Regions from separate parts of the Homo sapiens genome. Here regions 1 and 3 are each linked to region 2. The links are contacts of gene promoters, found by promoter capture Hi-C in blood cells and fetal thymus (Javierre and others, 2016). All regions are on one chromosome and are shown on one strand. The core of a region is centred on a gene start or on the middle of the fragment in contact, and the rest is flanking DNA. Distances in the headings are between cores, read along the strand shown.

Evidence for each region. The method cuts DNA at HindIII sites, captures the fragments that hold promoters and counts their contacts. A CHiCAGO score of 5 or more calls a contact.
Region 1: a contact is called between the fragment with the promoter of ZBTB46-AS1 here and the fragment with the promoter of PTK6 in region 2, in 11 of 17 cell types (megakaryocytes, naive CD8 T cells, neutrophils and 8 more). The highest score is 7.5, in megakaryocytes.
Region 3: a contact is called between a fragment that was not itself captured here and the fragment with the promoter of PTK6 in region 2, in 2 of 17 cell types (monocytes and naive B cells). The highest score is 6.3, in monocytes.

Annotation. Positions count from the first base shown.
Region 1 is chr20:63,806,248-63,809,566 of GRCh38, reverse strand. ZBTB46-AS1 (ZBTB46 antisense RNA 1) reads right to left here and starts at 1,491. Exons shown (of 3, transcript NR_110081.1): 1 at 1,412-1,491. All of the region lies in intron 1 of ZBTB46 (zinc finger and BTB domain containing 46), which reads left to right. The HindIII fragment of the contact is 29,160 bases long and covers 1-3,319 here.
Region 2 is chr20:63,535,220-63,538,636 of GRCh38, reverse strand. PTK6 (protein tyrosine kinase 6) reads left to right here and starts at 1,261. Exons shown (of 8, transcript NM_005975.4): 1 at 1,261-1,552. The coding sequence starts at 1,323. It overlaps SRMS (src-related kinase lacking C-terminal regulatory tyrosine and N-terminal myristylation sites), which reads left to right. Exons shown (of 8, transcript NM_080823.4): 8 at 1-148. RefSeq lists silencers at 203-472, 803-952 and an enhancer at 1,073-1,162. The HindIII fragment of the contact is 2,955 bases long and covers 1-1,948 here.
Region 3 is chr20:63,884,914-63,888,216 of GRCh38, reverse strand. The region is part of intron 5 of TPD52L2 (TPD52 like 2); the gene reads right to left. Among named protein-coding and RNA genes, the nearest start is that of DNAJC5, 8.6 kb to the left of the region's middle. RefSeq lists a silencer at 1,815-1,985. The HindIII fragment of the contact is 6,643 bases long and covers 1-3,303 here.

The DNA.
Region 1 (3,319 bases), core at 242-2,741, 270 kb before region 2:
AAGGGAGAAGAGGGGAGAGGAAGGGAGGTCGCGGAGCTCCTGCTGTCTCCCGGAGTCCTCTCCACCTGCTGGGCTCTGGCAGGTTTGCTGAGGACCGCGTGAGGGCGCTGCTGTCTTCTGGGCTCAGGGCTCCTGTGAGCTCCTGAGGCCTGGACCCAGGGGTGGCCTTTGTTGCTCCCTTGGGCATAATATGGGGGGACACAGGCAAGATGTGGGGCCACCACCCCAGCAGGCCTGTGCCGAACCCCAGGACCCCATTCCTGGAATAGACGCGGCCATGAGGACTGGACGCGCTGGGCGTGGCCCACGGCGGGGCCCCCAGGGCTGCGCCCCCAGGGCTGCTGACCTTGCCCCCCTTGGCTCCACCGAGTCTGCACCTTTAGTGCCCACTTCGGCCAAGCCCATGGCGAAGTGCCCCAGGCGCTGCGGTCCCTGCGAAGGGGAACGTGGAAGGCGAACGTGGAGAGCCCCTTGAGTGCCTCTGCAGCACCGGAGCACCGAGCCGCCAGCTCCCAGGTCTTACCTCATGAATCATGGAGTTTTCTTTCTTTTTTTTTTTTCTTTTTCTTTTTTTTTTTTTTTTTTTTTTTGAAGCGGAGTCTCGCTCTGCCGCCCAGGCTGGAGTGCAGTGGCGCCATCTCGGCTCACCGCAAGCTCCGCCCCCCGGGTTCCCGCCATTCTCCTGCCTCAGCCTCCCGAGTAGCTGGGACTGCAGGCGCCCCCACCACGCCCGGCTAATTTTTTTTTGTATTTTTTAGTAGAGACGGGGTTTCACCATGTTAGCCAGGATGGTCTTGATCTCCTGACCTCACCATCCGCCCGCCTCGGCCTCCCAAAGTGCTGGGATTACAGGCGTGAGCCACCGCGCCTGCTGGTTTTATTTCTTAAGGCGGCCTTGGCGCCTGTCCTGGCCGAGCGCTGGACCGAGGAGGGCCTTCTCTGGGGGAGGCTCTGTCCGCCTCCCACCCACGCTGGAGGAGCTCAGGTCTCATGGGGAGGCAGGACTCGCTTAGGGGCGGGAGGTCACACTGCCCCGGAGCCCAGGCCCTGCCCTAGGAGGAAGAGCCTGGCTTCCCCCTTCCCTCCCGCCGGGCCCGGGGCTGAGACTCCTTGTGGGTCCGGATGACCCTGTCCGTGACCTCCGCCCTGGCCCCGCTTCCGCCCCACGCCCCCCTGAAGCCCCGGGCTCCGTGGCGTCTGCCTTCCGGGCCCTCCCCTGCGCTCAGCCCCCGGGGCAAGGGCTGGGAAGGATGGCTTGACTGGCCTACAGGGTACAGGGGACCCCTGACAGGTTCATCGCTGGGGCCCCATGGGCCCCCCCTCCGTCTGTGCCGTGCGGATGTGGAGACTGAGGACTCCTCCATCGAAGGCGGCCGGTGGTGAAATCCAGTAATCTGGGTGGGGTCCTTACCGCGCTGTCCGCGGGGTTTCCTCACTGCTCAGGCGGCTGCTGCTCATCCACGCCACCTCCGTCGGTCCGTTCAGCTTCCGTGAGTGTCCCCTGTGGGAAGGTCCGTTCAGCTTCCGTGAGTGTCCCCTGTGGGAAGGTCCGTTCAGCTTCCGTGAGTGTCCCCTGTGGGAAGGTCCGTTCAGCTTCCGTGAGTGTCTCCTGTGGGAAGGTCCGTTCAGCTTCCGTGAGTGTCCCCTGTGGGAAGGGCCTGTGCCGCACAAGGTGGGGACTTGGGCACACGGCCTCGGAGGCCAGACACCGGGCGAGCCCCGCTCTGGGAGTGAGACCCGCTCGGAGGGGGAGCGAGCCCTGAGGCGCCGCCTGTAAGCCAGACCCGCTGCCTCACACAGACGGGTGCTTCGCTTGTTTTGGCCTAGTACAGCTTTTAAGCAAAAAGTAACTGGTTAGGGATTCTATCATATTGCTTGATGTAAACAAATGCGGCAAAATGTTAAAAAATGGAGTAGCTGAAGGCCGGGCGCGGTGGCTCACACCTGTAGTCCCAACACTTTGGGAGGCCGAGGCGGGCAGATTGCTTGAGGCCAGGAGTTCGAGACCAGCCTGGCCAACATGGTGAAACCCCGTTCCTACTAAAAATGCAAAAATTAGCCAGGTATGCTGGCGTGCGCCTGTAGTCCGAGATACTGGGGAGGCTGAGGTGGGAGAATCACTCGAACTCGGGAGGTAGAAGTTGCAGTGAGCCAAGATGGCGCCACTGCACTCCAGCCTGGGTGACAGAGCGAGACCAAACTGACTCAAGAAGAAACAGAAAATCTGAATAGACCTATAACAAATAAAGAATCAGTAGTCAAAAAACTTCCAATGAAAGAAAAGTTCAGAAACTTTCACTACAGTTATTGTACTTTTTAGCTTCCAAAAAGAAAAGTCAATTTCAATAAAGAAATTGAATCAATAGTCAATAAACTTCCAACAAAAGAAAAGTCCATCTCTGTCTCTCTCTATATATGTATATGATTGTATATATCACTTCACTGTTGAATTCTATCAAACATTTTAAGAATTAACACCAATCCTGGCCAGGCGTGGTGGCTCACGCCTGTAATCCCAGCACTTTGGGAGGCCGAGGCAGGTGCATCATGAGGTCAGGAGATCGCGACTATCCTGGCTAACACGGTGAAACCCCGTCTCTACTAAAAATACAAAAAATTAGCCGGGTGTGGTGGCGGGCGCTGGTAGTCCCAGCTACTCAGGAGGCTGAGGCAGGAGAATGGCGTGAACCTGGGAGGCGGAGCTTGCAGTGAGCCGAGATGGCGCCACTGCACTCCATCCTGGCCGACAGAGCGAGACTCCATCTCAAAAAAAAAAACCAAAACAAAACAATTAGCTGGGCGTGGTGGTGGGCGCCTGTAGTCCCAGCTACATGGGAGGCTGAGGCAGGAGAATCGCTTGAACGTGGGAGGTGGAGGTTTTAGTGAGCCAAGGTCGCACCGTTGCACTCCAGCCTGGGTGACAGAGCCAGATTCCATCTCAAAAAAAGAGAAAGATTCCATCATATTCCTTGAGAGCATAGTGTTGCCTTTATTTTAAGCAGGTATTACAACCTTCTTATTTAGGTTCTATTTTTTTTGAAGTTACCATTTCAGGTCAGAGTTAGCCATAGCAGTATCTCAGATTTAAAATGTACACAAATAGTTTTCTTGCCTTGTTAAGCTGATTAGCTTTCTTTTCTTTCTTTTTTTTTTTTTTTTGAGATGGAGTTTCACTGTTGTTGCCTGGGCTGGAGTGCAGTGATATGTTCTCGGCTCACTGCAACCTCTGCCTCTCGGGTTCAAGCAATTTTCCTGCATCAGCCTCCCGAGTAGCTGGGATTACAGGCACCCGTCACCATGCCAGGCTAATTTTTTTTTT
Region 2 (3,417 bases), core at 12-2,511:
CCCTCCCCACCTTGGTCAGCGCTGAGCTGGGCTGCCCAGAAATCTATGAGCCTGTTAAATAATCCAGATTATTGTTCTTAATCTCAAAACAATGAGTGGAAGGTGCCATTATTTCTCTTTGCAATAAAAATAAAAGTTGAAATACGCAGTTTAGGGACTTTCCTTACCACCCCTTGCAGACTTTGAATTTCCCTTCCCGCCCCTTCCTGCCCCCTTGTGGCTGCCAGTCCAGGTCCCTGGGTTGGAGCTCCCGGGTGGACACAGTAGGGTCAGTGGGAGGGTGGGGCGGGGAGGGGCCTCCAGGGAGGGGGTGTCCCGAGTCTCAGGGGCTGGGGGGCAGGCGGCCGTCGGGTGCAGGTGGGGGTCACGGCAGGGCTCACTCAGGCATGAGTCGGGAGAAGGGAGGCCAGCTGGAAGGGGGCAGGGGTCCTGCGGGCTGGACAGGAGGAGGCAGAGGCTGGAGGCGGGAGGGGCTGCCTGGGAGGGACCTGTGGCCTTGGGCCCCAGCGCCATGGGCGCTTCCAGGCCGCACTCACGGTCCTTGCCTGCCCCCTGGCGTCCGTGTGGAGGAAGGCAGTGCCCGTTTCTTCAGCCGTGGGTGCCCCTGGCTCTGCCTCCCCGGGGATCCCCCAAAACCCTCGGGCCCTCCTCTTCCGGGAAGTCCTCCGGGCCGACCCACACAGCTGTCGCTGCCCTGATTCCACTCCCTCTTCCCTGCTTGGCCCTTACCCGAGGGCGGGCCTGCCCATGAGGCCGCTCTCAGGACGCCTGCCCACAGCAGCTCCTGACATTGGGCCCTGTGCTCAGGGGTGGAGTCTGGGGCTGGGTGAGGGCACCGACGGGTGGAGGGGAAGCTGCCGGAAGCGGGGAGAGAGGCGGCCCCCACCTGTGCCCCCGCAGCTCTGAGGGTTGGGAAGGCAGCGCCTGCAGCCCTCACCTTCCTGCCCTCAGGCTGCGAGGCTTGTTCCCAGAGGGCCGTTGGCTTCCCTGAGTGCCTGAGTGTCCATAAGTTGGACCCCCAAGAAGCCCCAACCGGGAGGTCCTCCTCCCCCTCTCCTGCGCTCAGGCCGGCCCTGGCGGTGCTTGCCCAGTGGGTTCCCATAGTGCGGGCGCTAAGTGCTCAGATGGGCCCCAGTGGGCCTGAGGACTTGTGGGGCCGGCTGGGCCCTCAGGAGGAGCCGGGGTGCTCTGGAGCGCCTGTGGGTGCTGGGTGTGGCTGCTTCCCGGCCTGTCATGAGGAAGTGGGACGGCCCGCCTGCCACGCCCAGCTCTGGGTGCTCCAGCTGGGCCACAGCCTGGTCCTGCCGCTGCGCCCGCCCGCCATGGTGTCCCGGGACCAGGCTCACCTGGGCCCCAAGTATGTGGGCCTCTGGGACTTCAAGTCCCGGACGGACGAGGAGCTGAGCTTCCGCGCGGGGGACGTCTTCCACGTGGCCAGGAAGGAGGAGCAGTGGTGGTGGGCCACGCTGCTGGACGAGGCGGGTGGGGCCGTGGCCCAGGGCTATGTGCCCCACAACTACCTGGCCGAGAGGGAGACGGTGGAGTCGGAACCGTGCGTGTCCTAGGCTGCTGGGAGCTTTGGCACAGGCCACCCTCTAGGCACAGGGGAGGGACAGGGCTCTGGGCTGCTCAGGGAGGCCCAAGAAGGTGGGGACCCCGGTTCCATCTTCCTGCACCCCAAAGTCCAGGCTGGGCATCCCGCTTGATCCTCCCTGCAGGCCCCATGCGCTGGCGCCCAGGAGTGCCCAGGACTGTCCCTGCGGGAGTTGGAGCACGGGGGTCAGAGGGCACGGCCCCTGCCTTGGGCTCATCCTTGTCACAGCTCGGGGGTGGACGCTGCATTGCCGGGACCCAGGGAGGACAGAGGGTCCAGGGTGGACTTCTGGGGCCCGGTGGCCAGTGACAAGGTCTGTCGGAGCGTTCCAGGGCCTTTGGGGGAAACGAAGCTTGAAGCTTGCCCAGTTTCCAAAGTGCCGGAACCAGACACACGACCTAGTTAGGGGAGCGGGCCGGCTGCCGGGCAAACTTCCTGCCTGCTGTGCCCTGCGGGGAACCAGACAGCAGCTGGTGTGGCCTGGCCCTGGCTTCCACAGCTGCCCGGAGCTCAGGCTGAGGAGGGTCACGCTCCTGAGATCCCGCGTTTCTCATCAGTGATTGGGCACCCACTGTGTGTGTGCGTGAGTCACAGGCTGTGTAGGGTTAGCTCCCGGGGGACCCAAGCAACAAGCAGGGGAGGCTGTAAAGAGGCCGTCGGGCAGGGGCCCATGGTGGAGACCCCTCTATTACGTGCAGACCCACGACCTCGTTAGCAGGGTCACGCGCAGACCCACGACCTCGTTAGTGAGCAGGGGTGCAGGGGTGGGGTCTGGCCGGAGGCTGGTCAGCTCCCAGGTGCAAAGACCCTGAGTCCTGAGAACTCGCCCAGGTGAGAAGTGGGGAGGAGGCCAGGTGAGGAGGGGGTGGGAGGCCAGGTGGGGGGGGGAGCGGGAGGCTAGGTGGGGGGGGCTGGAGGCCAGGTGAGGGGGGGCGGGAGGCCAGGTGGGGGGGGCGGGAGACCAGGAGAGGAGGGGACGGGAGGCCAGGAGAGGAGGGGGCGGGAGGCCAGGAGAGGAGGGGGCGGGAGGCCAGGTGAGGAGGGGGCGGGAGGCCAGGTGAGGGGGGGGCGGGAGGCCAGGTGAGGGGGGTGCGGGAGGCCAGGTGAGGACGGGGTGGGAGGCCAGGTGAGGGGGGGGCGGGAGGCCAGGTGAGGAGGGGGCGGGAGGCCAGGTGAGGAGGGGGCGGGAGGCCAGGTGAGGGGGGGGGCGGGAGGCCAGGTGAGGAGGGGGCGGGAGGCCAGGTGAGGAGGGGGCGGGAGGCCAGGTGAGGGGGGGGGCGGGAGGCCAGGTGGTTGGAGGGGCAGGTGGGGCAGTGCTTCCAGGTGTGCGGAAGTGGAGGGGGTGGACCCCAGGGGCTCCATGCTGGGCCGTGGTCTTCTGTGTGGGGTTTGTGTTCCAGTGACCTGAGGGAGTCAGACACACAAAGGGCGCAGGTCACCTGGAGCTTCTGCAAGCTCCACCTGGAAGTCCACAGTCCAGGGCTGGCCCACACCCCGCAGCCGGGAGTTAGTGCGCGCGAGTGGCTGTGTGTGCGTGCGTGTGAGCGTGTGGGCAAGTGAGCACACATGCGCGTGTGTGTTCAGGTGTGCGGGTGAACTGTGCGCATGTGTGGGGGTTTGTGACTGTGTGTGTGTGAGCGTGCGTCACACATGGGTGTGTGCAGGCAGCTCTGGGCAGCCATCCTGCTCAGCTGCCCTCCCCAGCTCCACCCTAGGCTCTGACCCCTAGACTCGGGCCACTCAGGGCAGGGTGTGGTAGCGCCTGCCCCTGCCCCCGCCGGGTCCTCAGGGGCCTGTCCTGGCCTTTCGGGACATTCAGGGCG
Region 3 (3,303 bases), core at 534-3,033, 350 kb before region 2:
CCAGGCCCGGGGACTCTAGAGGCCAGCACGTCTGCGACACCCAGCCAGAGTCCCCACAAGGAGAACAGGGCTCTCCTGAGAATCAGGGCGGTGCCTGACGGCGCAGGCACAGAATAGGGACCACAGTTCTGGGCTCTCCTGAGAATCAGGGCAGTGCCTCACGGCACAGGCACAGAATCCTGAGAATCAGGGTGGTGCCTGACAGGCACAGAATAAGGACCACAGCTCTGGGTGTTTCCGTGAAGGCTGAGACCGTGAAGTGTCCTGAGTGACAGCCCACCAGGGCAAGTGCCAGGATCTGTGTGCGAGCCCCTCGAACCCCACCCCACCCACTGCAGGCAGCCAGGGTCAGGACTTGGAAAGGACACGGCCCAGTTTGACACAAGGATCTCCTCTGGAGGCTGCAGGTGAAGAGCCTGACCCCCTACCAGCTCTTCCTCGTCAGCCTAGAGGGGGTTTTTACCGGCCCTTAGTCATCAGAGGTTGCCAAGGGAATGGAGTCCTCAATTAATCCAGGAATATGGGAAGGGCAAGGTGTAACCGGCGGGAGCTGCCCCAACCCCCACCAGAGACACCCGGCTCTGGAGCCGCAGCGAGCAGGCATACATTACCTCATGGCTGGCATACTTATTGAGTGGCGGATGGAGTAGCTGCTGCTTGGAAGCATGGCAGAAGCAGAGAAGGAAGCAAGAGTTAACACCAAGATCCACACACAACCCCAACTTGGCAGGGATGGGCAGAGCTGGGATTCCCCCACTCCCAGCAGTTGGAGCGAGCTGCCTGCCCCTCCACACAATGCCCCCGAAGGAAACTCGACCCCAGGGTCCTCCCTTGGCCTCATGGGGGGCACCCCAAGTTGCCCAGCGCATAGCACTGGGAGGGGGGAGAGCACTGCCATAGGAAGCTGTGAGGAGACCAGGCTTGGGCTTTTGAAAAGTATTTGGTACAAACAGCCTTCAGAAGTCAAGTAAGGACCTTTTGGCAAAAGAGAAACCACCAAGTCAAGTAAAAACACAAGAAATCACAGATTGTTCTGGGCCTGGCTCTAGACCTCCCGGTTCCAGCAGAAGGGCACGTGCTGGCGGCGCCCCGGCTTGGCCTAGAGGAGCTTGCTCTGGTCTGCAGGAGGGCCCTTTGGGAGGCACACCTATGGGCTCTCGGGTAGTAAACAAGACAAAACTCCATCTGAAGGAAAACAAGGAAACAGGACAGATGTTGAACAGGAAGGTGGTGAGAGTCGGCACAGCCCTCCCACGTGAAAAGGCTCCTTTGAGGGCCCGGCGCAGTGGCTCACGCCTGTAATCCCAGCACTTTGGGAGGCCAAGGCGGGTGGATCACGAGGTCAGGAGATCGAGACCATGCTGGCCAACATGGTGAAACCCCGTCTCTACTAAAAATACAAAAATTAGCCAGGCGTGGTGGCTCATGCCTGTAATCCCAGCTACTCAGGAGCCTGAGGCAGGAGAACCGCTTGAACCAGGGAGCTGGAGGTTGCAGTGAGCCGAGATCACACCACTGTGCTCCAGCCTGGTGATAGAGCGAGACTCCAACAAAAAAAAGAAAAAAAAGGCCGGGCGCGGTGGCTCACGCTTGTAATCCCAGCACTTTGGGAGGCCGAGGCGGGCGGATCACGAGGTCGGGAGATCGAGACCACGGTGAAACCCCGTCTCTACTAAAAATACAAAAAATTAGCCGGGCGTGGCGGCGGGCGCCTGTAGTCCCAGCTACTCGGAGAGGCTGAGGCAGGAGAATGGCGTGAACCCGGGAGGCGGAGCTTGCAGTGAGCCGAGATCGCGCCACGGCACTCCAACCTGGGCGACAGAGCAAGACTCCGTCTAAAAAAAAAAAAAAGCTCCTTTTCAGGAGTAAACTCAGGCCTGGACGCCAGGCCAGTTATTCACAGACCCGGCAGCAGGCGGTCTGTGAGCCTGAAGGGAAGCACGAGGAGGGGACACAGAAGGGCCGGGGGGTTCCGGGGGGCCTCTGCGTCGATCCCACGCTGCTGCTTTGTTCCCTGAGATGCAGCAACCACCTGGCTGGCACTGCTGTCCTGGAAGGGGTGATCCCACTTTCACTGCCCTCTACTAGCACAGCCGCCCAAGGGCCCTGCCGGAGTCCACCCTGCCCCAATTCAGAGAAAAGTCTTCCACAGGTGTGTCCAGGCTCAGCCTTACCTAAAGGAGTGTGAAAATGGATGAGCCCTGGAAGGTGGCAGCAGGAGAGAAGAGGAAACGAAGTGTAAGCAAGGGAGGCCAGCACCCACTCACAGCCCTCCTCGGGGAGCCCCAGGGGAGGCCCCCTGCTCGTGCTCAGTCAGGCCCAGCAGGGGAAGACCCTCCAGGACGGCTCCTCCAGTCCGCACACCACCGGGGACAGCAGCACTGTCTCCAGTCTCCTCAAGTCCTGACTCAACAGGAGGCTCTCGCAAGATCATGACTAGCAACTGCTCAGCCTCACGGCTGTGCCCAAGAGGCCCCTGGGTCCACGCCCTGTCCACGCCTTATGCCCCAAGGCACACCTGTTTGGAGAAGCCACAGCACCTGGAGCACAACCAGCCCCATCCAGCAGCGCAAAGGTGTGAAATGTGCCACAGCATGACAGCTGGGCTTGGCCAGCTCCACAGAACGAGAGCGGCCCGTGTTCCCCAAATCACGTCAGCTGAGGGAGCACACGCACCGTGGGAGGATGTGGGACACCCTTGGCGCCGAGCATTTCTGCTCTGCGCTCCATCCGTGCCCACAGACGCCAACCTGGAAACCTGTGTGTCCAAGGGCAGCTGCTGCCACTCACTGCAGCCAGGCCCACTCTGACATGGAGGGAGCCACTGAAGAACTGAGAAACACTCAACTCGCCCGAGGTCCTGAGAGGGCCGATGCCTCATCTGAGACCACGGAGTCAGACGGTGACCTGACCCTGCTGTAAACCCCCACTCTGACCTGAATCCAGTTCCCTTCCTCCCATCCCCATCACCCATGCCCCAGGGCACACCAAAGGCCTCACAGACCGGGGCTGCCCTGGGACAGGCCCATCATGGACACGGGCGTTGGGCAGCTGTCCAGAGGGGCTTCCGCCCAAGAGTTAGCAGGGGTCCGCCGGGGTTCATCCAGCCCTAAACTCATGACATAAACCTCCCAGAACCCAATTTTCACTTTCAGGAAGTAGTGAGCTCTCAACCTCAGTCTCTAACTCGAGGTGAATGGGCCCAGACCTCAGAAACCACCTGTGACTGCTTGGGGAGATGATGGGGATACACCAGGGGCTCCAGACGTCAGAGTTCCCACCACCACTACAAACATAAATGGA